Regions from separate parts of the Homo sapiens genome. Here all the other regions are linked to region 1. Evidence: promoter capture Hi-C in 16 types of primary human blood cells and fetal thymus (Javierre and others, 2016). All regions are on one chromosome and are shown on one strand. Each heading gives the region's core, a stretch centred on a gene start or on the middle of the fragment in contact. The rest is flanking DNA. Distances are from core to core; before and after follow the strand shown.

Region 1 (5,016 bases), core at 1,652-4,151:
AACAACAATGTGACACAATTGCTGTTACCATACAACCCACTAGAGGGGTTACAGATATTCTAAGTCTCACCACAACCCTAAAAGGTAGTTATATTCCAATAGACTGATGAGGAAACTGAAGTTCATAGCTAGAGATACAAGATTTAAGCCCAGACCTATTTCATTCCAAATCCCTTACCATAGCCCTGCATAGCCCAGAAATATCTACTTCTGCTTCTATCACCAACCTGTACATGGTTAACTTGTAATTACACAGTCTTTAGTGTGAGAACTACTAACTCTGGAAGTCCAATTAGAATGTCAAAATTTAGCCTAAAGAATTGGGTATAAAGTGAAAGGTCAAGACAGAGTCTGTGCACCCAGTTCATCTAGCTCACAGTACCCTCTCCTTCCTGGAGATGTGCTGAACTTCAAGCACATTTGCTTCAAAATGGTTTATTCTGGTTTGTGTGTATGCATGATTCCCATGAACTATGAACACCCTGAAGTCGGAGAATAAGCCTTGTACTTCTTTAAGACCCTCACTCAAGTTGACTGATTGCTAATTCTACCAGTCCTTTACAGAGAGCTTGCTAAGTGTGGATGTTAATGTGAATTAGGTGGACTGAGGTAAGATCACTAGATTTAAGGTTTACATGCTACAAAATAAGAAGAGGTGAACTAACCAGTGTAGCATAGTTTTTAGACTAGTGGCTTTCAAGCATTAATGTGCATGTGAATCACCTGCCTACACGTGAAGAACTACCCAGTTGATCCAATTAGAAGGCAGACACAAGAGTAGCCAAAAGTATTGCAATAAAGCAACTTGGGGTGGACTCAACTTGCAGGGGATTCAGATCCCAGGTTTCCAAACCTTTTTGCTATTCCTGGTTCTTTTGCTTTCAGTGAAGAGTAGTTAAGTACAATAGTAGCTCTCATTTACTGACTACTTACAAAGTGATTGGCACTGTTCTTGGTGCTTTGAGCATATTAGCTAATTCTCACAGCACCCTGTAGTACTATACCTATAGGGATGATAAGGGGATGTGGGTGGTGGGGAGGGGGCAGATAAAAAGAACAGTAAATTTCCTAAGTTTAAACTGGAAGAATAGGGATTTCATCCTGGTTCACCTGAGTACAAAGTCTAAGGTTCAATGATTCCTTGACACTGGGTAGCAAGGGAGCATTTCAGGGATGCCTAAGCTTGTGGTCAGGTGCCAACGGTACAAAGATAGAAGTATATCAGAGAGCCCTTGCAGAATAAGGCCCTCCACAGGAGGGTTGTGACCTTGGTACTTGCCTCACTGTGTTTAAATTCAGGTAAGGTAAGAGAATTGAAGAGGTAAAGCTACCTTAGAGAGTATTGCTGCATCTACCCTGGTGACTTACAAGGTACTTGAATTTTTTTTTTTCTAGCAAACTGCTAAAGTTAGCCTTTGCCTTTTTCCCAGAGACTCTCTAGGAATTTTTCCCATCTGCTGACTAGGAGGTAAGCCCGGACCTAAATTTTTGTCTTGTTGTAGGTTAATTAAGACTGGTGTTAGATTCAGCTCCTAAGGCCTAAGAGAATTTAAGGTTGTCTTCTGGGAAGGACACCCAACAGCAGCATTGGAATTGGAAAAAAAGTGTAGGATTTTGCTGAGTGAGCAGGGGGAAAGCAATGTAAAGCCCAAGAGAATATCTTTTGAACAAACGTCCTTTTCATTTTGGTTTAGAAATAGAAACGTGGTAAAAGGAGGCGACTGTTTTCTGAAGGCTTGTAGCACGAAAACAGGCCAACTGGCCAGCAACTAGTTGTCTATCAGTTTCTCTACTCACATACATCTGCCTTTTCCAGACTGCCAGCGCGGAGCACTAGTTTGACTTTGGGTGCTCTTCAAATAGCTGGCATTGATAAGGCATTCCCAGAAGACTGTGTTACTTAGTAATCTTGTCGGTACATTTTTTCACTGGGCAGAGATTTTCCAAACAGAGAGCTGCCAGCTTTCAAGACGTCAGAGTGCTTTTTCATCCTGAAATTGGGTGGGAAAATGGGGAGAAGAAAAGCACGGTTCAGATCAATCAATGAGAGAGAACCCCTCCCTCCATACTCGTTAAACAACAGGTGGTTTTGCTGTGCACCGTCAACTCCTTTATGCGGGAGCTGTAGGCGGGGCATTCCAACTGAGTCTCCCTGGAATCTGCCCCTTAGCCCGTATTGCAGGGGCGGTGCAGTTGGGGATTCCGGCCTGAAAGGAGACTTGGTTGTCAAGGGGCTCAAGGGCTTCATGATCCAAGGATATTGGGTTTTGCTTTTCTCCTTCTCCATCTTCCTCATTCTATCCCACCGTCCCCTCCCCACCCTTCTCTTAGGAGGCCTTCGCTTCTCCTGTGGAGGGGTTATCTTCATCCTGACCCTGGCCTTCGGAGGAGTTCCCAGAAGGGCTATTTTTAGTGGTGGCTGCTCCCCTCTAACTTACCCAGGGGAGGAGCTGCGGTGGCTGAGCCGACGCTGCGCGCACAGCCGCCTGTGGTTTTCCGCGCATTGTGAGGGATGAGGGGTGGAGGTGGTATTAGACGCAGCCGAATCCTCCCTCAGAGTCCGCCAGGTGGGCGTCTCAGGGGTGGGAGTGGCCGCGTCGTGAAGCGGAGAGAGGATTTCTCTCCTGGTCCTGGAGAAGGCCCCCGGCGGCCGGCGGCATCCCTCGCTGGCGAGTCCCGGGAGCGAGGTGGTCTCTGCAGGGGAGGAAGTTCCCGGGCGGCGCGGCCTGCGTCACAGCGGGGCTGGCACCGCGGAGTCGACTCGGCGGGCGGTGGCGACCCCGGGGCCGGGCGCTGGGCGGCGCTGGCTGCCGCTAGCCGGGCTGCGTGCGGGGCGGCGCTGGAGGCGGCTCCGTCCGCGGCCGGGGAGGCGGAGGGGAGGAGGGCTTGCGGGGCTGGGGCGTTAGCTGCGTCCCGGCTGGAAGCCCGCGAAGAGAAGTAGGAGGAAGGCGCCGCCGTGGCCGCGGCCGCAGTGCTCGGGCGCGACAAGCCATGAGCAGCGACCCCGCGGGCGACGCCGCCGTCCCTGGCAGCCGCTGAGCCCGACCCCCAGGCAGCTCGCCGCTCCCTAGCACCTTCTCCAGTCGACACTCTCGCGCCCGGAGGTAAGGGCGGGGGATCCGCGGAGGGATGGAGAGGGGCAGCCCGCAGAGGGCCACCCGCTCGGTCCGCTGTGCGCGCCGGACCGGGACTCGCCCCGCCTCACTCGCGTCCTTGCTTCCCCCCGGCTCTCAGACAGGCAGAATGTGGTTGCCCGCCCGGCGTGTGGTGCTGGGAACCTTCCGCTACTGCGGCTCAGGAGCCCGCCAACCCCTACCCCACCCAATCCGCGCTAGCCCGAGCGGCCGCGCGAGGATCTCAGCCTGGCGCCCAACGCCGCGCCGCAGCGGCAGGTCCTGCAGACTGGGCGCGGGGGTGGGGGGGCGGTCCGCGAGGGGAAATGCGTCCGTGGCCGGGGCGATCGTTGTTCTTTCCTACCTCGAAAATCTCTGAGACCCCGGGGCCAGTCCTTTCCGGTCTATCACCCCCCTGCCACCTCCGAACCCTTGAAGTTAGCACTTTTGGGCAGGGAAAGGAATTGGAAGGTTTCTCGAAGAAACGTGAGAGCACCGTGTGCTCACCTGCAGGACAGGAGGGAAGGGGTTCAGCTTGATCGGGCGGGCCCCAGAAGCCAGGTGTTTAGGCCAGCGGTTGAGGCCAAAACCGCTGCCTTCATCCCACGCCTAGGCTCGCTGATCTTTCCCTTTCCAGCTGGTTCCCACCAATGAGATGATTAGGGATGGAGTTAGCAACTCAGGAGCCTTAGATGTGTTCTGTGGACACGAATGCCTTTCTTTTCTCCCTCAGCCGGTTCTTCCCTCCCCAACCCCCACGCCTGCCCGGTATACAGCAAAGTCCAAACAGTTTCTTCCAAACCTCGCATCCTCCGTAGTTTTGCAACAGCCGGACACCTAGCCCGCATCCTAATGCGGATATTTCAGAGTATTACGGCTAAACTTCCCTTGGTTTCAAATTCCTTAAACATGTTAAAGCCTCAGCAAACGTTAGGAAACATTTTCAGGTTCCCATCCTCAAAGTAAAAAATAAGAACCAATCCATCTTTGTTGGAGTGCCGGTGTTTGGCACGGGGAGGCTTGAATTACCTCCATTTAAAGCAGCCTTTGAAGGAAGGAATAGGTAAAGGAAATCGCAGCCGTTTGTAAGTCACATACTTCTTTCGCGGTAGTGTGAGAAACGTAGCCTTAACCAACAGTCACATTTCCCGACAGGTATGTGATGGTTTCCCAAAGCATCGATGAGGCTTCAGCGTGGGCAGGTCATTAAGATGCCATTTAGACGAAAAAGGAGTAAAAGTGGAGTAGTCCTCTTGGTTAGCACAATGCTGCAAAATCGCCAGAGCCAATAATTTTTATACATTTATAAATTCTGTTTATTTTTAAATAATTTGTTGAAAACCCAAAACGTAATCTGAGCTGCATAAAACTCGCTCAATTCATAAACAATGTGTTGAGTGTGTAAACAAACATTAAATGTATACAGCTCTAGTCTAGGATATTTGCATTTCTTGTGACTTGCTTTAACAGGGAAGGCCAAGGCTATAATTGGTTTGCTTTACTCTGGAGTGATTAAGTTCTGTCTTGGGGTCAGTTTGTTTCCTTTGAGGGGGATGTAGGGCAGTTTTGCAAAGATGGATATTTGCCATGGTTCACATAATAGATTGGGCACAGACAGGACCCATCAACCCAACAATTGTATCAGAGATACCAAGTATATTTAACAATTTTCTTATTAATAAAATCAAGCCTTTATTAATAGTACTAATCTATTATTTCTCAGATTAAGCACTTTAATGAAATGTATTTTTAAAAGGGAATGCTTTTAGTGAAAATAATGCATTAGGAGCTGTAAGATAAATGAATGAAAATGTTGCACTTTATTTCCATGAAGTTTATCTTTTAAAAAACAATACAAAGTTAGAAATATGTTTAACTCCCAAGTGTTCAATTTTTACCAAAT
Region 2 (5,016 bases), core at 1,031-3,530, 670 kb before region 1:
CTTTCCCCCTCCTTGTTTTATTTGGTATTTAGGTCAATATTTCCTGTTGTTTTCTGTCCAGCATCTACCTCCTCATTTTGCTTTTGAAGTACCATCCTGATTTTCTATCCCTTGAGAGTAAGAGTGCAAGTGCAGGTCATGTACCTTTGTTTGAAAGCACTTTGGGCTCTGGAGCAATAAACTGAGTTCCTTTGAATTTTACTTTAATAGCAGGTCTAACAAATTCTAGCAAGAGGAGATCTGAAAAGCAACTATAAACACTATATACATTTCTTAGAATGATAAGTGTTTGTGCTTTTAAAATTAAAAATTTAAATACAAAAATAATTTATGCTTCATGCAATAAGTAAAACTAGGCAAAGATGTATAAAAATTACAATCGCTCCTCAATATTATTTCATTCCCATCCCCCTGAGGTGATGAATGTCCACAGCCTGGTGATAGTGCAACACCACTCTCAGTGCTTATACCAATATAAAAACACATAGACATGTATATACCTATGTATTTACAAAAACTAGAATATACATATTAATAAATAAGTGGGTATGGTTGTGTTCTAATGAAACTTTATTTACAAAATTTGACATATTGGGTCCATAGGCCATAGATTGCAAAACCCTGCTATAGACCAATTTGGGAAAACTGACATAGACAATATTTAGTCTCTCAATCCATGAACATCATTCCCAATTTATTTAGGTATTGCTTAATTTCTCTCAGTAATGTTTTATAGATTTCATCGTACAGATCTTGGATATATTTTAAAAAATTTATTCTTAAATGTTTTGTGTTTTGGGATACTACTATAAATAGTATTTAAAAAATTTTACTTTCTAATTGTTCATTTTAATATATAGAAATACAACTGATTTTTGTATATTGGCTTTGTGTCCTGTGACCTTGCTCAATTCATTTATTAGTTGTAGTAGGCTTTTTTTTCTTTTAGAATTCCTTAGGATATTCTATGTACACAATCATGTTTTCTGAAAATGAGTTTACATTTTTCTTCTTTCTAATCTATGTATCTTTATATCTCACAGGACTCCAGTACACTGATGAATAACAATGGTCAGAGTGGACATCTTTGCTGTCTTTTCAATCTTACTATATTATGTGCACTACAGGTGTAATCTGTAGGTTTCTCATAGATTCCTTTTATCAGAGTGAGAAAGCTCCATTCTATTTCTAATTGGCTGAAAACTTTTATTATAAATGAGGGTTGAATTTTGTCAGATGCATTTTCTATATATACTACATAAGATGATCTTTTTTTTCTGATAATATAGCATAATTGCAATGATTAATTTTTGGATATTAAAACTAATCCTGCATTCCTATGGTAAACCTTACTTGGTCAGGATGTATTACTTTTTATATCTTTATACACACAGGCACACACACATGCACACACACATATCTGGATTTGATTTGCTAAAATTTCATAATCTTTGTTTCTATGTTCATGAGAGATATTGAACTGGAGTTTTCTTTATTTCTTTCGCTGGCATTTTTTAAATCAGTTTTTGTATCAGGGTAATGCTGAAACTAATTTTATGAGACCAGCATTACCCTGATACAAAACCCCTGATTAAAAGTTCAGACAAAACCATTAGGCATTTCTTTATTTTTCAAATTACAAAAATTGTTGATCAATAAGTAAAAGTTTTTCATCCTGCTCCACTTTCTGAATAAATGTGTGCAGAACTGGTATTATTAGGTTTGTGCAAAAGTAATTGCGGTTTTTGTCATTAAAATTAATGGCAAAACCGCAATTACTTTTGCACTGACCTAATAGTTCTTCCTTAAATACTTGATAGAATTCACTAATAAGCCATCTAGGTATTGAGGTTTGTTTGCAGGAAGACTTTAATTACAAATTCATTTTCTTTCATTGACATAGGGCTAGTTGCATTTTTCATCTCTCCTTGTGTCAGTTTTGGTAATTTGTATCTTTTAAATAATCTGTTCATTTCATCCAAGTTGTCAATGTACTGACATAAAATTATCCATAATATTATCCTATTATTGCTTTCATGTTTGTATGATCAGTAATGATATTCCTTCTTTCATTCTTCATATGGTACTTTGAGTTTTTTCTTTTTTATTGGTCAATCTAGCTAAAACTTTTACTTATTGATCTTTTCAAAGAACCAGCTTTTGGTTTCATTAATTTTCTCTATTGTTGGTTTGTTTCTAGCCTTTCATTATGGATTTGTATAGGCTGGGGAGTGAGTTATGTTGAGTAGGTCTGAGATGGGGGTCTGTAGGGTGGGCCAGGGAGTGAGATCTATGAAGAGCAGGGATTCTCACCAGTGTCAAACCCTGTGACACAGGTAAGTTTCACTGCTTTTCCCTGTGCTATTCCCAAAGCAAAACCCTTCTATGGATTTTTATAGTTAGACCACTATAGAAGACAAAAAACAGGCTTCCTCCTATACCATTCCCCTCCCCATTTCCCACAATATCATAAAAGGAAAAGACAAGTGGTCAGACATATGATAATTGTATGGCTTTTGGCACAACAGATACAAGTCTACAGTTCAAAGGTACGTCTGATCTAGAAAATCTTTGGCTATCCTAGGCATTTCATTACAGAAGGATGGGAGTGAGCTGGCACAAGGAGGAAAAACGTAGCTAGTTGGATATATTAAATAAAGGGTCAGTGCTCAGGCTGCATAAATGTTGATGAGATAGAAAAGACATGTCTCAAGAGAATGTTGTTCCTTATCGTGTTGCCATAGGATCCTATCTTGGAGCAACAGTAAAGTAAGGGCCAAAAGAAAGAAAAGTGTAGAGGGGCTGGAAGTAGGCGAAGGCTCATCTCAGGACATAGGGCAAGGGCAGAAGTTTCTGTGGTTGCTAGGATGGGACAGCTGGTCCCAGAAAGTCACTTATATATGAATGACAGAAGGGCACATGCACACACACAGACACACACCCCAGTATAAAATAAAAGCTCATGGCCCATATGGTCTTGATATACTTACAAAGCCTCGTGTATACTGATTCAGGCTATCGATTGCTGCAATCTTTGATAATTCTTCTTTTACATATGTAGGAGGGGATATATCTGGAAAGCCTTGGCCAAGATTCACAACAGAAGGGTCTGCAGCCAATTTGGTAAATTCAATCCTAAGATTGAAAAAAATACTAATATTAATAAGTTCTACAATTATAAAGTTCGCTTTTTTATATCTTATAGTCTTACCACAAAACAGACAAATAAGACCCTAGTTTAGTCCTATAGGTTTTAAAAAATGAGTTTCCAACAAAAATTTACCAACCACAAATCAGTTTACCAAATAGAATGATGGCTGAATTTATGAACCCAATGTCCCTTACAAACCTCAGTTTCACGCTACCCATATTTTAACCACATATATATATTTTCTCAACAATTCCAGCTGCTGCTAAGTTCTTTCATCAACTATTAGAGAACAGAACTAATAAGAAAAGTTCCTGGATTGGAGGTTAAGTTCCATGAGGGCATTAACATTTGTCCTTTTCTCTGCCATATGTCCAGTGTCCAGCAAAGGGCATGGCACATGTGCCAAATGAACAATTCAGTATATGGATTGCTAACTTCCTTCCATTTTCATTTAATGGATGAATTAAATGAGGACCTTTATTTATAGACCATGGATGAGGCAAAAAAAACTCCCATCTAAAGATACGAAAATATGTAGGAAACCCTCACTAAATTATTATTTATTTTAAGATACTCACCACACATTACTATCAAGTCCTTCAATCCGTTTTGCATTTGTGAATTTCAGTGACATTTTCTGAAATATATAAATATTGAAAAGGAATTGCCTTAGTCAAAATTTTAAAAGCCAGTAAATCATGGGTCACTCTTCTTCCTTTTCCCTACTGTTACCATGTAAATAGTAGTTCCATAAAGATAAATCTTAGACTCCAACACAAAATTCTGAAGAGGAATTCATCTCCCACCTACTACTGAAGGAATGCCTTTTTTTTTTTTCTCAGACGTGGTTGCCCAGGCTGGAATGCAGTGGTGTGATCATGGCTCACTGCAGCTTCAACTATCCAGGCTCAAGTGATCCTCCTGCCTCAGTCTCCTGAGCAGGTGGGACTATAGGCATATCCTACTGTGCCAAACTATTTTTTTTGTTGTTGTTTGTTTGTATATTTTATAGAGACAGGGTCTTGTGGTGTTGCCCAGGTTGGTCTCAAACTCCTGGCCTCAAGGGATCCTCCTACCTTGGCCTCTCAAAGTTTGGGATTACAGGTGTGAGCTACCATGCTTGGCTGGAAGGAATGCTTTTTCAAATGAAATTTAGATGTTCATCTTCTCACCTAAGGACAAAAAGTATCATCCTACCCTAGAAAGCTAATCTGTTTTAAGGCTTGTAATGTAGTAAAGAGAACAATAATAATATTTAAAAAGTTAGTTTCAAAAAATATCTTAAGCCATGCTCTGAACATCATTTTAGGTAAGATGTACTAAGAGTTTCACAAGTAAGTTCCTTGTATGACATACAGGAAAGACTCAACAAATGGTTTTAAAGCTACTCAGTAAGGGGTTCCATAATTATTGCTAACATTATTGAGTACTGAGTATGTCCTAGGTACTGTTCTAAGTGCTTTACATAATGAACTCATTATTACTGTATGTTTACAAAAATATGTAGTAGTTCTATTACATAGTTAGAACTATGAGGTACAGAGGTACGGAGAGGTTAAGATCACACAACTTTTCACATCTGCTCAAGTTTATGAAAGCTAGTAACATTTAAACCCAAACAGGTTCAACTCAGGATCTGAACCCAGACAGTCTGACTCCAGAATCCATACTCAGAACTATTATATAATTTTATACTGTGTTTTATATAATAAGACCTTCTAAAAATATTACTAGAATGCTGCCTCTTAAAAGTATATTATAAATTTAGGATAAGCCTACTAATACCAAGCAAGCTAAGGCTGTAGTAGAAAAATAGGAATTAAAATTATCACATAGCATACAATTTTTTAGTTCTTTAGATTCTA
Region 3 (5,016 bases), core at 1,224-3,723, 650 kb before region 1:
ATCTTGGCTCACTGCAACCTCTGCCTCCCAGGCTCAAGCCATTCTTGTGCCTCAGCCACCTGAGTAGCTTGGATTACCGGCATGCGCCACCACACCTGGCTAATTTTTGTATTTTAGTAGAGCAGGGTTTCACCATGTTGGCCATGCTGGTATGGAACTCCTAGCCCAAGTGATCCGCCTGCCTCGGCCTCCCAGTGTTGGGATTATAAGGGTGAGCTACCACGGCTGGCCTTAACTGGAACTTTGAAACAACATATAGTTTGTTACTTTATTTTATAAAGAATTATTTGTGCCTGATACGCTGTAGCTATTTAACATCTGTTGACTGAACAGATCTGCTGAGTGAAAGGGAAGCAATTTGGACTCCCTCTGAGAGATAATGTATTTGGGGAAAAAATTGTACTTCAATAGAAAACTATGCACTGGCCACAGCACAGCTTTAGGGCTGATATTTGCAGGGCTAGAATTTGCCTTTGAGTTATTCTGGGCTTTTGTAAATTGAAGCTAAGTGACAGGCATGCAAATTCTGGTTCTAGCATTTTGATTATCTTCCCTCCACCCTGTAGAAAAAACAGTTTTGCCTTCATTTGCAATCCAATTCCTTTACTACATATGAATTTGTGCTTTTTGACTTTCCATATGTACTGGTTATAACTTCTGTCTGGTTACTTCATATCACATGAGTGAAATAAAAATCTTTAGCACATGTTCATTTTTATATTTGTATGAGTCATGATTTAACCTTTTTCTGAAAATTATATTTTAACAATTACTTCAGAGAAACAAGCTTATTGGAAACAAGGCTTTCTCTAAATCTGAAAGCTGATAACAGCTAAATACATGGCTGGAATGCCAGAAATGGAGTCAGGCCAAGTGGAGAACAAAAAGCCTGGTTTATTCTCTCAAAAAAAATTGGGTTCAAGCCAAGACCTTGGAAGAGTGAGTAAGTGAAGGGAGTGCGTGAGTATTGTCCTCACCCATATCAATAGGCCTGGGGCCCTTCTGCCTGCCTACACTGTGTAATCTCAGCTCCCCCAATCACAGCTATAAATCAGAGTTGGACAGTCAGGCTGAACCAATCAAGACAACTAGAAGTTTGGGTTTGAGGCTGAGAAACAGGCTGTTTCTTCTGGGCACATGAAACAGAAGATTGGTAAGTTTGAATCTGGGCAAGTCTGTGTTCAATCCCTCACACACATGCCATGTTCTGTGCCAAAAACACACCTACGTTCCAAGTATATTGTTCAAGGTTGTTTAATGCAAAGAGCTTTCAAGCCAGATAGATCTTAGTTCAAAATTAAACATCAAAACTCCTAGTGTGTGAAGTAGGCAGGTTACCTGACATCTCTGAAATTCAGTTTCCTTATTTGCTAAGCAGGAAAATGAATACCTGCCCCATGTAAGTGCTATGGCAATTAAATGAGGCAAAGCCATAAGCAGAAAAATATAGTTCATGGCATACAATATATATACTCCAAAACTAGTGCCCACTCAGAAAGTAGGAAAGATTCTCTTAGATACAAGTAAGGATGAGTAACTTTGCACTAAAGGAGGCAAAGAGATATTGGGTATGGACTAAATGTACAAAAGGTGATACTTTCACATCAAAAGAGAGGGTTGGGCTGGACGCAGTGACTCATGCCTGTAATCTCAGCACTTTGGGAGGCTGAGGAGGGTGGATCACTTGAGCCCAGTAGTTTGAGACCAGCCTGGCCAACATGGCAAAACCCCGTCTCTACAAAAAATACAAATATTGGCCGGGAGTGGTGGCGGGCACCTATAGTCCCAGCTACTCAGGAGGCTGAGGCAGGAGAATTGCTTGAACCCGAGAGGCGGAGGCTGCAGTGAGCCGAGATTGCGCCATTGCACTCCAGCCTGGGCGGCAAGAGTGAGAGACTGTATGAAAAAAAAAAAAGAGAGAGAGAGAGAGACAGAGAGAGTTGATTTCCTTAAGGAAGGACAGACCTAAGGAAAAGGTTTTGTCCAGTGTTGCTTTTGCGCTTCTCTGGTGGACATTTAAATTTTAGACTCTCTTAAAAAAAAAAAAATTAATAGACTATTTTAGGGCCAGGCGCGGTGGCTCACGCCTGTAATCCCAGCACTTTGGGAGGCCGAGGCAGGTGGATCACAAGGTCAGGAGATTGAGACCATCCTGGACTACAGGTGTGTGCCCAGCTAATGTTTTGTATGTTTAATAGAGATGAGGTTTTGCCATGTTGCCCAGGCTGGTCTTGAACTCCTGGTCTCAAGCGATCCACTGGCCTCAGCCTCCCAAAGTGCTGGGATTGCAGGTGTTAGCCACTGCGCCCCGCCTACATTTTTCCTTTAGCATTCAAAACATTCTTTAAAATTAGAGAATATGTAAAATGTTTTTGTAAAAAAGCAAGTAATACAGGAAAATACAGCCTATCCTTCATTCTATTCCCTTCCCGGCAGATTTTCATGACATTAAGGATGATGTGGATGAAACGAATATTCTAAGTAAGTTCACAGTAACTTATCTGGCTGGTTCTGACAAGTCTTTCTTGATTTAAACTTATCACTATTGCTTTTGTAACACTGGCCAGTGTTTTTCATTCGTCCAGCAATAGGAAGAATATTTATCTTTATCCCTGTGCGACTATTTTAAATGCAAAGCCTCTGATGAACTGTAGACACTTTTCCAATGTAGTTAAAATGATACAAACACTTTGGCAGTTACTTAATTAAACATAAAGCTACCACACAACCCAACCATTCCACTGCTAGGTATGGAGAGGGGTTAGTGCTATCCCAAATAGTCCACAAGTTTGAATAATGCATTGTCAGTGGTTTTTGCCTGGGACATACATCAGAATCAGCTGGAAAGATTTTTCAAAATACATTCCAGATATGTAGAATTAGAATGCATAATGGTGAGCCCTGGCATACGTAGTCTAATAAAAGTTCCACAAATGAGGATTGTGCACACAAATGCCCTTTTAGTGCCATGGTTTCATATGTTCACCTTGGGGAAGCACAACCACTTCCCTGGCTTCAACCGACTTCTATGTTGGGAGAGGGCCTGAAAAAGGTGGTCACGGTGGCATAAAGAGGAGAGAATTCAAGACAGTTATGAGGTAGAATTCATAAGATTTACATATAGAAGACACTGATGATGGTTTTTATGAAAATTTTAAACCACTGAGAAAATTTTAAACCAGTTGAGAGATTAGAATTAGGTTGAATACAAAATTGTCAATATTCAACCAGTTATGACAAAAATGGTACTTCATATGCCAAAAATGGAATTTTCATACAAAAATAGCAATTTCATATACTTTAACCTAATATAAAACACTCATATGCACACTACCCAGATTCAGTAATTCTCAAGATTTTGCCTCTTTTTTTCTGTAATTGCTGAGTAACTTTAGAATAAATCTTAGACCTTAGGTCATTACATCCCTACATACTTGGCATATTATCTAAAAAATATTGCTACTTATATAACTGCAATTTCATTACCACACCTCACCAACAATAATTTCTTGTTAACATCTAATACCCAGTCCACATTCGTATCTCTCTGATTGTCTTTAAAAAATGTCTTTCTGCATTTTGGTTGACTGAATCAAGTTCCTAAAGCAGATGTACGTATTGTATTTGGTGGTTATGGGTTTTAAACCTTTTTCGATCCCTGAGCAGTCCTCCTGAAATATCCTCTTCTACTTTTTTCCCATGCCACTGGACCTATATTCATAACTTGAAGGGTTTTGTGAAGACAAAATGAGGTAATGAATATATAATGACCAGCACATGGCCTGATCCACAGACAGGCAAGCAGTTGCTCAGTGAATGTCAATTCTAGTCAATGACAAGAGACACCTTCAGCATATGTAATAGAAATGTTCATTTCAATAAAGTATTTGTAAAAAAGCATCTGAAAAATTACATATTTTTTGGACAGTGCAGAATATGTACAATAATTTATCTGTAAGTAAGCAATACCTACAGCAGAAGTAGAGAATCCGAGGATTTTGGAAGAAGAAATTGTCTTCAGGAATTTTGCTCTACCGCTAAGAGAGCAGAGGCTCCTCTGGGCCAAAAACATGCTATTAAATAAAAGAAAAATTGAGAAGAGGAATAAATATATGATGGGTACATCACTATCAGACACTTACAGCTAGCTGATGTATCATAAGCTTACGTAAAATCCAAGTAAACATTTTTGATAAGTGAGTTTGCTTTCTTTCAAGTTTTCTTTCTATGATATAATCTCTCATCACTGGAGGCATTCTAATAAATGTATTCTTCCTACACAAATTTATATTCACATCATTTTAAACTAGAGAGCTTTAAGAATATTCTTAATTAAAAAAATAAGGCTTTAATTTAGTCAAGAGCATTAAATTTCAGAAAGTGAAAGTTCCATTTCTAGCAGCTATAAAATCCAGAGTATTTCAATCTAGGAACTACTCAAATTTCAGAATCCTCTGGATAACAGTCACTAGTAAAAGCATAGTTTGTAACAGTAAATTAAAGTTGTTAGAAACAGTTATTTAAAAAGTTGTTTGAAAAGACGAATGATAGTAGGTCCTTGATAAATATAAAGAATATATGAGTGAATCTTAGGTTATTCTGAAGGTACTTCCTCCAACAATTCCCACAAGCCATTTTAGTGGATTCCAGTGGCATGATAGGCATGCATTCTGAATTGCTTCTCTACCTGTAAGTATAAAATTGATATCCGTCATGGGTAAATGGAGGAAGATCAAGGCAATGAAACTATTACAATACTGCCACTTAGAAGTGGAAAGAAAACCCAGCTTTCTAAAAACATTCAGGCAAATAGATATTTCTCATAAGGTTTTACTCTGAGAATGTTGTTCTCTTAAGTCTACTGTATAAGGCTGCTGTATCAGTGGATGGCATGTCGTCTAACAGTTATCAAACCTTAGAGAAAAAGAGACCTAATCTATGGAAACTAAATAGAGCTTCTATATAAAACGCTAACAAATCAAACCCAGTAGTATACAAGAAGGATAATACATCATG
Region 4 (5,016 bases), core at 1,299-3,798, 570 kb before region 1:
TGCAATGACTGCATGAGCCAGCAATTCCCCTTCTGGGTATATTCCCAAAAGAAGTGAAAGCAGGGACTTGAACAGATATTCAGACACCCATGTTCCTATTAGCATTATTTATAATAGACAAAAGGTGGAAGAAATCCAAGTGTCCATTGACAGATGAAGAGATAAACAAATTAGTATACACGTACAATTACTAAGCCTTAAAAAGGAAGAGTTTTGACACATGCTAACACACTGATGAACCTTGAAGACATATGAATTGAAATAAGCCAGTCATAAAAGGACAAATATTGAATGATTCCACTTATATAAGGTTTCTGTAGTAGTCAAATTCATAGAGATAGAATGTAGAATGATGGCAGGCAATGGGTTTATGTGGAGCTTTTGTTTAGTTAATACAGTTTCTGTTAGGCAAGATGAAAGATTTCTGGATATGGATGGAGGTGACAGCTGTATAACAATGTGAATTTCATTAATGCTACAGAGCTGTACACTTAAAAATGGTTACGAGGTTAAATTTTATTTTTTTTACAACAACAAAAAATAATATCCACTACAGATTGAAACATTTTTTCAACCTTAAAGATCACTGTGAACTCTGTTATTGCATAAAAATTGTAATAAACATTGTATAGTTTATTATAGTTATTATTATGTACATTAATTATTTTTATTACTGTCTTACTCCTTTTAGGAGAGGCATAATTTGTGCTTTTGAAATGGAAACTAAGGTATCATGGGAATAATTAATGAATTGATTCTTATCCCCTAGAACAGCGTGAAGATAAGGAGCCCGACTGTGAATGGAAAGTTAGCTTTCAGTATTCATCCTCATCTCTTTCTCTCCTCACATCTTCATAATGGAGGCTGACTGTGTAGATGGACAGAAGGGACTTGGCAGAGCTTTGCTCATGCCACTCACCCTTTTTCTTTCCAGCCAGCTTGTTCATCAGGTAGGATTTGCCTGTGCGGTAGAGGCCCACAATTGCCACCACCACCATAGGCTGTGTAATGGCAGAAAGGATCTTCAGAGCTTCTGGATTCGCCATCAGTCGCCCATTAGTGTTCTCAATGAGGCACATTGGGCCTGTCATGTGGATCTCTGATGCCATGTCCAGGCTGTTCCCTTGTCTGCAAGAGAAGAGGTGAAATACATGAGAATTTCTAGTGTTTTGCAATTATAAGGGAGAATCATAAGATTCCCCAGTATGGCCAAAAGTTTTGTGTGTGACAGCAAAAGAGATGAGGCAAAATCTGTATCATTTGAGAAAGTTATGGAAGTATTGTCAAAGTAGCTCATTATGAAAAATGTTAGCATGACAGTGACTTATCAACACTCAACTACTCTCACGACCCAAATATTTCATTTAGTTTATTGTGGAAAACTTTCTTTTTGGATTCTTATTAGATATTTTCACTAGTCAATTAATGGAAGATAGAATAGGATTTAGAGGATTTATTTGCATCCTGGCTGTATGTAAGGAATTCAATATTGATTCACTTATTAATTCTCACAGTGAATAAACATCCAACACAGTGAATCAGTATTCATAGTTTGATGTTTACCCTTAGAAAAATTTCCAAAGATTTTTAAATGTGTTCCTTCCTCCATCTTCAAATGATTATGCTTATTTCACTGCAATGAGGATTGACAAAGCTTCTCACATTGCCATTCTGGAAGTGGTAACAATGTAACATACTTTTGCAAATTTTATAAAACTATACAACCATGTGAAACACATGGCTAGGGAACCTTCCAAGGGCTCCTAAGGGTCATGTCCAAGAGAAGGGCCCTGAAACTTAAGCTTCATTAGAGTCACGATAAGATAGCTTCTAAGTCACTGAGGGTATGAATGCAAAATTGCAAATACTGAATGTTTCCTCCAGATAATAAGGATTAAAAGATCAAGAGGCAGATAAAGAGAGCTACCTAGGAAGTTGTTCAAATAAAATATATTTCCAGCGATACAGCTTTAGGATTTCTGTTTTGTTCTGTTTTCCATTTGGTAGGGTAGGAGAAAGAGAAATAGAAAGAGGAGGAATAGTAGGAGTGGAGAGGAGGATAAGGGGCTGGGAATGTGTGTGTGTGTGTGTGTGTGTGTGTGTGTGTGTGTGTGTGAGAGAGAGAGAGAGAGAGAGAGAGAGAGAGAGAGGAGCTGTCAGACCAGAGGTGATGAATGAGGCTAGTGTCTTGACAAGGCATTCAGGGGAAGACTTTGCAGAAGGCAGGATCAAAGTAGTCTGAGTGCATGGAGAGGTTAAAGTAAGCAAAGATATTTTCTGTAGAGATGCATTACAGGAGAATTAAAGAGGAAACACTTTTGGCCCTGCTCTCTACTAAAAGAAGACAAAATTGGAAGCACTTCAGTGAAGCAGTGGGGTTGAATTTCACTTCTAAGGGACAGGGATCAGTGGGCACTAGGAAATTAGTGAGTCTGGACTATTTCTAAAGAAAGTAATCCATTCTGAAACAAAGTTCACAAGTGTAATAAAAAGTATACTGTTTTCATGAATCTTCATCTTTCAGGCTGAGTTTCAGTTTTTTCTTTGTCTTTAACCGTGTCAGTGGGCTGCTTACTCTGCTTCTCATTTGCTGTTCTTTCCTTCCATGAAAAGAACCCGTTTGTAACTCTTCCATTTCTTAGCTGCATAGAAGCAGGATTCAGTCCATCACTGACGATGGAAATGTAATCATATCCCTAGTCAACATAGATAATGTCAACAAAGAGAAAGACTATCCTAGTACATTTCAAATGCTCAGTTTAGCCCCTGTCTACTGGTGCCTAATTCAACACAAGCACTGTAGTGGCACTTAAGGCCATGCTGTCCCTGATAACACCAGGATTTCATCTGACCTGCGTCCCACTTCAGGCTCATCTGCAGCCTAATTTGGTTCTGATGATGTTTAAGAAAATGAACTGACCTTTATAAATTCCTTCCCATCCCTGCCACAACCTTATAGGTTCCATATCACTGAGCTGAGATCCTTTGGAGCTAGAGAGAAAGCTGCTTGATGAGAAGTAGTAAAAGTTCTTACCTGTTCTTTTTCTCCTTAGTTCACGAGCACTGGCTTCTAGCACTTCTGTGTCTCTCACTGGATCCCTGGACTAATATTTCACTGTTCCGAAGTTGTAGGGCTGGGATTTCCTCATTGATGAAATATTTAGAAGCTAAGCAGATTTGTAATGGATTTAGAGTAATATGAAACTGAAAGTACTTCGTTCAAATCACTGACTCCACTACCATAAATGGAATTAGTGGAGTGTGCCAGTGGGAGGGTTTAAAGATTTCTCAACCAGAAGCTTCAAATTTTTTTTGTTGTTGTTGGAAATCTTAGAGACCATTTGTTGTCTAACAAAATGCCCATTAGGTTTTGAATACAATGATACATGTCTCATGGATTGAGTCAATTTGAGAAACCTAGAATGAGGAGGCATCATGTTAATTTTCAGCTACAATTTCCTAAAATAATAGACACACTCTCAATGGAGCTGCCTATTCTTTGAGAGGTGCAGTACATAAGGAAAGGACATGTTTAACACACTCATGAACACCTAACCCCTGGCACTTAATGCCCAGCACACAGCCAGGAGGGGGCTCCATGTGTTGTACTCATGTTCTAGGCTCAGTACTGATGGCTTTACATGAATCGCACAACTGAAAACTCATAATATTTCCTCATGGTTTTATAGAAACTGAGCACAGAAAGACTTTATTAGTTGTCTAAAATCATAACACTGTAACTAATCTGAACCCAAGCACTCATGATCCCATACCCTCTTCTTGAACCACTTCACTATGCTGCTTATTTACTAAGTGAAAAATTGTAGAAATATTTTATTTATAGGTTTTTTATTTTTAAATTTATTATAGTGTGATTTTATTTTTATAGATTGTTTTCTAAGAGCTGTTTGTGTTTTATGTCTAATTCAGTAATGACTTCTAGCATACAGAATAAGTGGCATTATCTCTATTTTACAGCAAAAGCAAATAAAATAGTAAAAAGCCTGAGTGAACATTTCATTTAAAAATATATTTATAGTGATGTGGTTTCACTTTGTTGCTTAGGTTGGTCTTGAACTCCTTCCTTCAAATGATCCCCCTGCCTCGGCCTCCCAAATTGCTGGGATTATAGGCATGAGCCACCAGACCCAACCTTGTGTGAGCATTTCTTTTTTTTTCTTTTTCTTTTTCTTTTTTTTTTTTTTTTTTTTTGAGATGGAGTTTCACTCTTGTTGCCCAGGCTGGAGTGCAGTGGCACGATCTCGGCTCACTGCAACCTCCGCCTCCTGGGTTCAATCAATTCTCCTGCCTCAGCCTCCCAAGTAGCTGGGACTACAGGCATGTACCACTATCCTGGCTAATTTTGTATTTTTAGTAGAGATGGGGTTTCTCCATGGTGGTCAGGCTGGTCTCGAACTCCCGACCTCAGATGATCCACCCACCTTGGCCTCCCAAAGTGCTGGGATTACAAGTGTGAGCCACCAGGCCTGGCCAAGCATTTCTCACTTACACATTAAAATTATATATTAGATGTATATAAATTGCAGATACAGTGTCTTTTCTCATTCATACTTTGTAAAATAATTTTATCTAAACTCTTTCTATCATCCTTCCTTAACACTGTAGCTCCTTTATTATTAAAACTACTTTAAAGTCTTTTACTTTTTAGAGCATAACATTCTTACATCTGTCAAAATTATTTGAACCATTTAAAATCTCTGCAGATTGTCCTGGAAGTGTAGGGGTGGGTTGCCCCTCCACACCTGTGGGTGTTTCTCGTAAGGTGGAACGAGAGACTTAGGAAAGAAAAAGACACAGAGACAAAGTAGAGAGAAAGAAATAAGGGGAGCCGGGGAACCAGCGTTCAGCATATGGAGGATCCCGCCAGCCTCTGAGTTCCCTTAGTATTTATTGATCATTCGTGGGTGTTTCTCCGAGAGGGGGATGTGTCAGGGTCACAAGACAATTGTGGGGAGAGGGTCAGCAGACAAACACGTGAACAAAGGTCTTTGCATC
Region 5 (5,016 bases), core at 1,452-3,951, 510 kb before region 1:
GATAGGAAATTACTGAGTGTGTACAACATATATCAAGAAATCCAGTGTGGTAGGGCAGAAGCCTTAAAATAAATAGAGGTTGGGATATGCAAGCTCTGTAAACCAAAGTAAGAAGTTTGAAATTTAATAGAAAGTTAATGGGAAGTCATTGGTGGGTATTAAGTGAAGAGAGGATATAGTATCGTTTTTTGTTTTTTAAATCATACTGGCTGGCATTGCATCTGTGAGTCAAGTGTGTATGCCAAAACAAACAAACAAACAAAACTAATACAAAAAGCAATTAGGTAGTTGAAAAGATAACCAAGATGAGAGGCAATGGAGCAAGTAGTGAGAATTGGCTAGTCTAGAGAAATAACTTTGATAGTGGAGCTGAAGGAGTTTGATGATTAATAATTTCCAAAACATAAGGAATGGAATCATCCAAGATGATTCCTAAGTTTTTGATCTGAGCACTTCTATGAATGATGTGGGAATTTATTGTGATTAGAAAGACTGGGAAGGAGTTGTTTTGGACAGGAAAATTAAGTTTTGTTCTGTACACTTTAGGCTCAAGATGTCTCTTACACATCTGAATGGAGATGTTGCACCAGAAGCTGGATACAAAAGTTTGAATTTGCTCATGCTTGGGAATACAGATTTGATGGTGATAAACATATTGGTGCTACTGAAAGCCTTGAAGCTGGATGTGATCATCTGGGGACTGAAAGCAGAAAAAGAAAAGAGGCACAAGAACTTAAGTGTTATAATATTTAGAGGCTAAAAGGAGAAAGAGGATAGAGTAATCTGAAAAAGTCTACCAATAAGGAAGGTGGAAAATTAGGAAATGTGGTATTCTAATAGGAACCAATTCCAAGTGAAACAGGCATTTCAGAAAGGTGGAAGGGATCAAATTTATGTAATGCTCCTAGAGAAATAAAAGGCTTATGGAAGATTGGAAGATCAAATGAGGTGAGAACTGTGCATTACATATAGGAATATGGGGGTGATCTTGATGAAATCTAATTCAGTATAATGCTTGAAACTAAGCTAATGGAAATGGTGAGGTCATTGATAATGAACTAGGTTAAGTAATGTGTGAGAGTGGAGAATGACAATAAGGGTGGAGAGTTCCAATAAGGTGATGGAACTGAGACACCAGGGTGTTAAATAATTGTCTATTGGTTGCTAGTCTCTAAAAAGACACTAGGAACTAAAATCTTTAATGAATGAAGGATGTATTTATTGGAACGTTGCTAGATAATTGCAACAAAAATAGTGGTGTAGTCTGAGGGCATATATATTAAAGAAGATTCTCTTTTTAATGGTAAAGGAATGAGAAAGTGTCCAGAACTCTAATATGGAGCAAGGAGGATACCTAACTCATCTCTTACACTTATGATATGCAAGGTATGGGATTAAAAATAGTCATCACATAAGACCACTGGAGAGGTCTGTAGGAGAAATAGTATCTATAGTGTATAGCTAGGTATCATTTAGAAGGCAACACTTAGAGCAGATGATAAGAATATAGAGAGTTGCAGAAGTGAGAACATGAGTTCTAGAGGACATTGAAGGTTTGGACAGGCATAGGAGATTAAGTCAGATAGAGGATATACAGAGTCTTGGGTGGCTGAGTATCTAACGAGACATGTAACTGGGAAGACTTGAAGTTCAGATGGAGATTGAGATAGAATGAGATGTTCAGCATAATGAGATTTATTAAAGAGAGGACTTATGAATTCTTCAGTACCTGTCTGTCTGCCTCTGTACTTGGTGAAAAAATGAAGCTGTTATTTTCTAGGTTTACTGCTGTTCTGGACCACAAAAAAGGATACTGAAGTTGGTCCATGGCCTGCTGGTTGATGGTTCCCATGCTATTGTACACGAAGGTGCTGCTCAGGAGGATGGCCAAGGCAAAGATCCAGGAGTCATTCTCATTGTCACCCTGTAAGTCATTGTAGAAGCCACAAAGAAGAATGACTAGCAGAATGTACAATCAATTCAGATAGCTGAAGACTGACTGAACTCCAACTCTGTCTCTCATTAGTTCTGAAAACTTAGGTAACTCACTTCCTTATGCAGTATTTTTTTCTACCTGTAGAACAAATTTATAATATTTATGATGTATAATTTAAGGTGTTATATATAAATATATGTCAGCAGGAAACACATGAGCACTTGGTAGGAGAAGCTATTTTGATCAGCTACTAAAATTCAAACTGGTACCCTAAACTTAGTTTATGACCCTATTCCATTTCCATGGCACATCATAGTAAGATATTTTTTACACAGTAGTTAAAATAAGCTCCTTTAATAAAAGCTTTCTATGTCTAAGATTTATAACAGTAGTAATATATTATCCTTAATGAGCAAAGATGTTATCATTAGATTTTACACTTTGCTTCTCTTTCTACTGGTGCTGGTGTGGATGTGAACATTTTTACTACCTTTGTGGGATCCCACTGTAAAAAGTCAGACATGTTTGTAAAACGTCTACTGAAGTTTATAAGCACCTTCAGCAGCCTCACCAAAACATTTTACTATAATATGAAAGAGAAATAACTGAAAACATCATTAGCCATTATTTCATAGGTTTACCCATAATTAATCAATTGAACTTATTGTGTACTCTGAATGCTTATACCACACAAATTTTAAGAAATAATATATTAATATAATTAACTAGAGCCCTAAATCAAGGAGTAGGAGTGATTGTGCAAAGATGGTTATCGATCTGACCTGGTTTATGTAGATTTTAATCTACCTAAGTGAAATTTTTAAAATACTTATTTTTTTTACCTTCTCTATATCTCCCAGGCCCTCAGTGTCGAGCAGAACTAGGGTGTGTTCTGGCTTCTTGGGATGAGGCACACACCACATCCAGATTCCCTTGGTGTGAGACTTCACTGTGGAGCCTAGAGAGAAGCCTGTAGAAGGAGAGGATAAAAGGGAAAAGAAATTACTTAGTAGGTGTTTCTGGAAATTGAGATAAAAGTTAACATAATTGAAGTTAAAAGAGATAAAAGAAAATACAACTGGCATAAATCTTAATTACAATCCTGGAAACAGGAAAATTAGATATTTAATACACACTGAAACATTCATATTTTTCTTAAAGTTCATTGAAAGCTTGCTGTCACTACATGAACATTTTAATAAATGTTTTATAAGTCATTATTATAGAAGTTAATTTTCTTTATTAACATTGTGTTCCTTCCAGAAAGGCACATTTATACCCTTAGTATAAAATAAAAGTAAAGTGGGAAGAGTCAGTTGACTGTAATCCTCCAAAGTCAATGTAAAGAGCCCATTAATGGACTGAAAGTTAGCTTTCAACATTCATTCTCATCTCTTTCTATGCTCACATCCCTAAGCTGGATGTTCGCCGTGTGTACGGACAGAAGGGGCTTAGAGCTTTGCTGGTGTCACTCACCGTTTTTCTTCCCAGCCAGCTTGTTCATCAGGTAGGATTTGCCTGTGCGATAGAGGCCCACAATCGCCACCACCACCACAGGCTGCGTAATTGCAGATAGGATCTTCAGAGCTTCTGGATTCACCACCAGCTGCCCTTTAGTGTTATCAATGAGGCTCATTGGGCCCGGCAAGTTGATCTCTGGAGCCATGTCCAGGGTGTTGTTCCCTTGTGTGCAAGGAAAAAGATGAAATGGAAAGCAGTTTTTAGGTAGTTAGCTATGCTGAACTTTACAATATGGGTTAAATTTTTGTTTTCTATGCTTGAACATTTTTTCATATACGTTTTTTAAAGCCTGGTTTCTCTTTAAGGCTGTCTTACAAATTGGGTCACTGGCTTTCTTTAAAAATAACTTTATTTTGAAATACACTTACAGAAAAGATGTACAATGGGTATGGAAAGTTCCCATATATCATTTCCCCTAAAGTTAAAATTTTCCATAACCATAGAACAAGGATTTTAACATTGGTAGAGTGATAACTAATTTACACTCCTTATTCACATTTCACCAGTTTCCCACTAATGTCCTTCTGCTCCATGACCCAATCCAGGATTCCTCATTGCATTTAGTCATTATGTTTCTGTATTTTCCTTGCATCTTTGATAGTTCCTTATTCTTTCCTTGTCTTTCATGTCTTTGACATTTTAGAAGTTGACTGGCTATGATTTTGTAGAATATCCCTCAATTTGGGTTTTTTGATGTTTCCTTATTATTAGATTGAAGTTATACATTTTTTTTTGCAAATGTCACCAAAGTGATGTTCTGCCATTTTCAGTGTCTTGTATTAAGGGATTCATGATGTTGACATGACTTTTTCTGGTGCTGTGACCTTAACTTTGATCACTTGGTTAAGGTGTTCTCTGCCAGGTTTCTCTACCACAAAGTGTTATGTACCATTTTGTCACTAAAAAGTACCATTTGAAGAGACAGTTTGAAGACTATGCAAATAAAGATTCATCATACTTCCATAATTTTTTCAGTCACTATTTTTAGCATCTGTTGATAATTCTTGCTTATAACTTACTGTGATGTTTGACTAAAAGTAATTTTCTATTTTCATTCCTTCTACATTTATTAGAGTTCTAATGTGAGCAAGAACTGCCCTTTCTCCTCTATTTATTTTATTTACTTATTTAATCATTTAGTTGTATCAGTGTAGATCTATAGTAGATCAGTGTAGATTTATCATATGGGTAACACTTTACTATCACTATTTATCTCATTGCTCAACTCGTCCCAGATTAGTTCACTGAGAGCTCCTTCAAGCTGTAGCCCAGGTACTATGGACGTGCTTCCATCATATTTTCAGTGCGTCTTTCCTTCTGACATTACAATATATGCCAGGCTTATCTAATATTTTTTCTGCTTCAGCCTTAGAATCGACCATTTCTCCCAAGGGCTCTGGTTGCTTTCATTGGATAATGGTAGATAGACAACAAGATTATCACACTAGGTGTAGTCATTACTTCTAGGCCCTCTCAGGTGGAAAGTTAAGAAATCTATGTTTATATACCAGCACATGAATACACACATCTACATTTATTTCTCGTCTATCTGTTTCTAT

Evidence for each region. Contacts are between HindIII fragments. The CHiCAGO score rates a contact against its expected background, and 5 or more counts as called.
Region 2: a fragment that was not itself captured here is called in contact with the fragment with the promoter of LRRC8C in region 1 in 1 of 17 cell types (activated CD4 T cells); the score reaches 5.5 in activated CD4 T cells.
Region 3: a contact is called between a fragment that was not itself captured here and the fragment with the promoter of LRRC8C in region 1, in 13 of 17 cell types (naive CD8 T cells, activated CD4 T cells, erythroblasts and 10 more). The highest score is 11.7, in naive CD8 T cells.
Region 4: a fragment that was not itself captured here is called in contact with the fragment with the promoter of LRRC8C in region 1 in 4 of 17 cell types (total CD8 T cells, non-activated CD4 T cells, naive CD8 T cells and 1 more); the score reaches 6.5 in total CD8 T cells.
Region 5: a contact is called between a fragment that was not itself captured here and the fragment with the promoter of LRRC8C in region 1, in 1 of 17 cell types (total CD8 T cells). The highest score is 6.0, in total CD8 T cells.

What each region holds. Positions count from the first base shown.
Region 1 is chr1:89,630,219-89,635,234 of GRCh38, forward strand. It overlaps LRRC8C (leucine rich repeat containing 8 VRAC subunit C), which reads left to right and starts at 2,902. Exons shown (of 3, transcript NM_032270.5): 1 at 2,902-3,104. LRRC8C-DT (LRRC8C divergent transcript) reads right to left here and starts at 2,676. Exons shown (of 3, transcript NR_033981.1): 1 at 2,439-2,676; 2 at 1,798-1,991. RefSeq lists a silencer at 2,704-3,363 and enhancers at 3,744-3,793, 3,824-3,873. The HindIII fragment of the contact is 6,667 bases long and covers 1,181-5,016 here.
Region 2 is chr1:88,965,680-88,970,695 of GRCh38, forward strand. KYAT3 (kynurenine aminotransferase 3) reads right to left here. Exons shown (of 14, transcript NM_001008661.3): 3 at 3,730-3,788; 4 at 2,991-3,135. Among named protein-coding and RNA genes, the nearest start is that of KYAT3, 24 kb to the right of the region's middle. The HindIII fragment of the contact is 6,056 bases long and covers 1-5,016 here.
Region 3 is chr1:88,984,279-88,989,294 of GRCh38, forward strand. KYAT3 (kynurenine aminotransferase 3) reads right to left here. Exons shown (of 14, transcript NM_001008661.3): 2 at 3,974-4,073. The coding sequence starts at 4,072. It overlaps RBMXL1 (RBMX like 1), which reads right to left. Exons shown (of 3, transcript NM_001162536.3): 2 at 3,974-4,073. Among named protein-coding and RNA genes, the nearest start is that of KYAT3, 5.8 kb to the right of the region's middle. The HindIII fragment of the contact is 3,376 bases long and covers 786-4,161 here.
Region 4 is chr1:89,062,126-89,067,141 of GRCh38, forward strand. It overlaps GBP1 (guanylate binding protein 1), which reads right to left and starts at 3,083. Exons shown (of 11, transcript NM_002053.3): 1 at 3,035-3,083; 2 at 920-1,128. The coding sequence starts at 1,109. All of the region lies in intron 2 of LOC105378841 (a long non-coding RNA gene), which reads left to right. RefSeq lists an enhancer at 3,280-3,379. The HindIII fragment of the contact is 1,497 bases long and covers 1,801-3,297 here.
Region 5 is chr1:89,118,365-89,123,380 of GRCh38, forward strand. It overlaps GBP2 (guanylate binding protein 2), which reads right to left. Exons shown (of 11, transcript NM_004120.5): 2 at 3,413-3,619; 3 at 2,779-2,906; 4 at 1,815-1,924. The coding sequence starts at 3,602. It overlaps LOC112268267 (a long non-coding RNA gene), which reads left to right. Exons shown (of 2, transcript XR_007066213.1): 2 at 547-5,016. Among named protein-coding and RNA genes, the nearest start is that of GBP2, 5.2 kb to the right of the region's middle. RefSeq lists a silencer at 3,302-3,596. The HindIII fragment of the contact is 809 bases long and covers 2,298-3,106 here.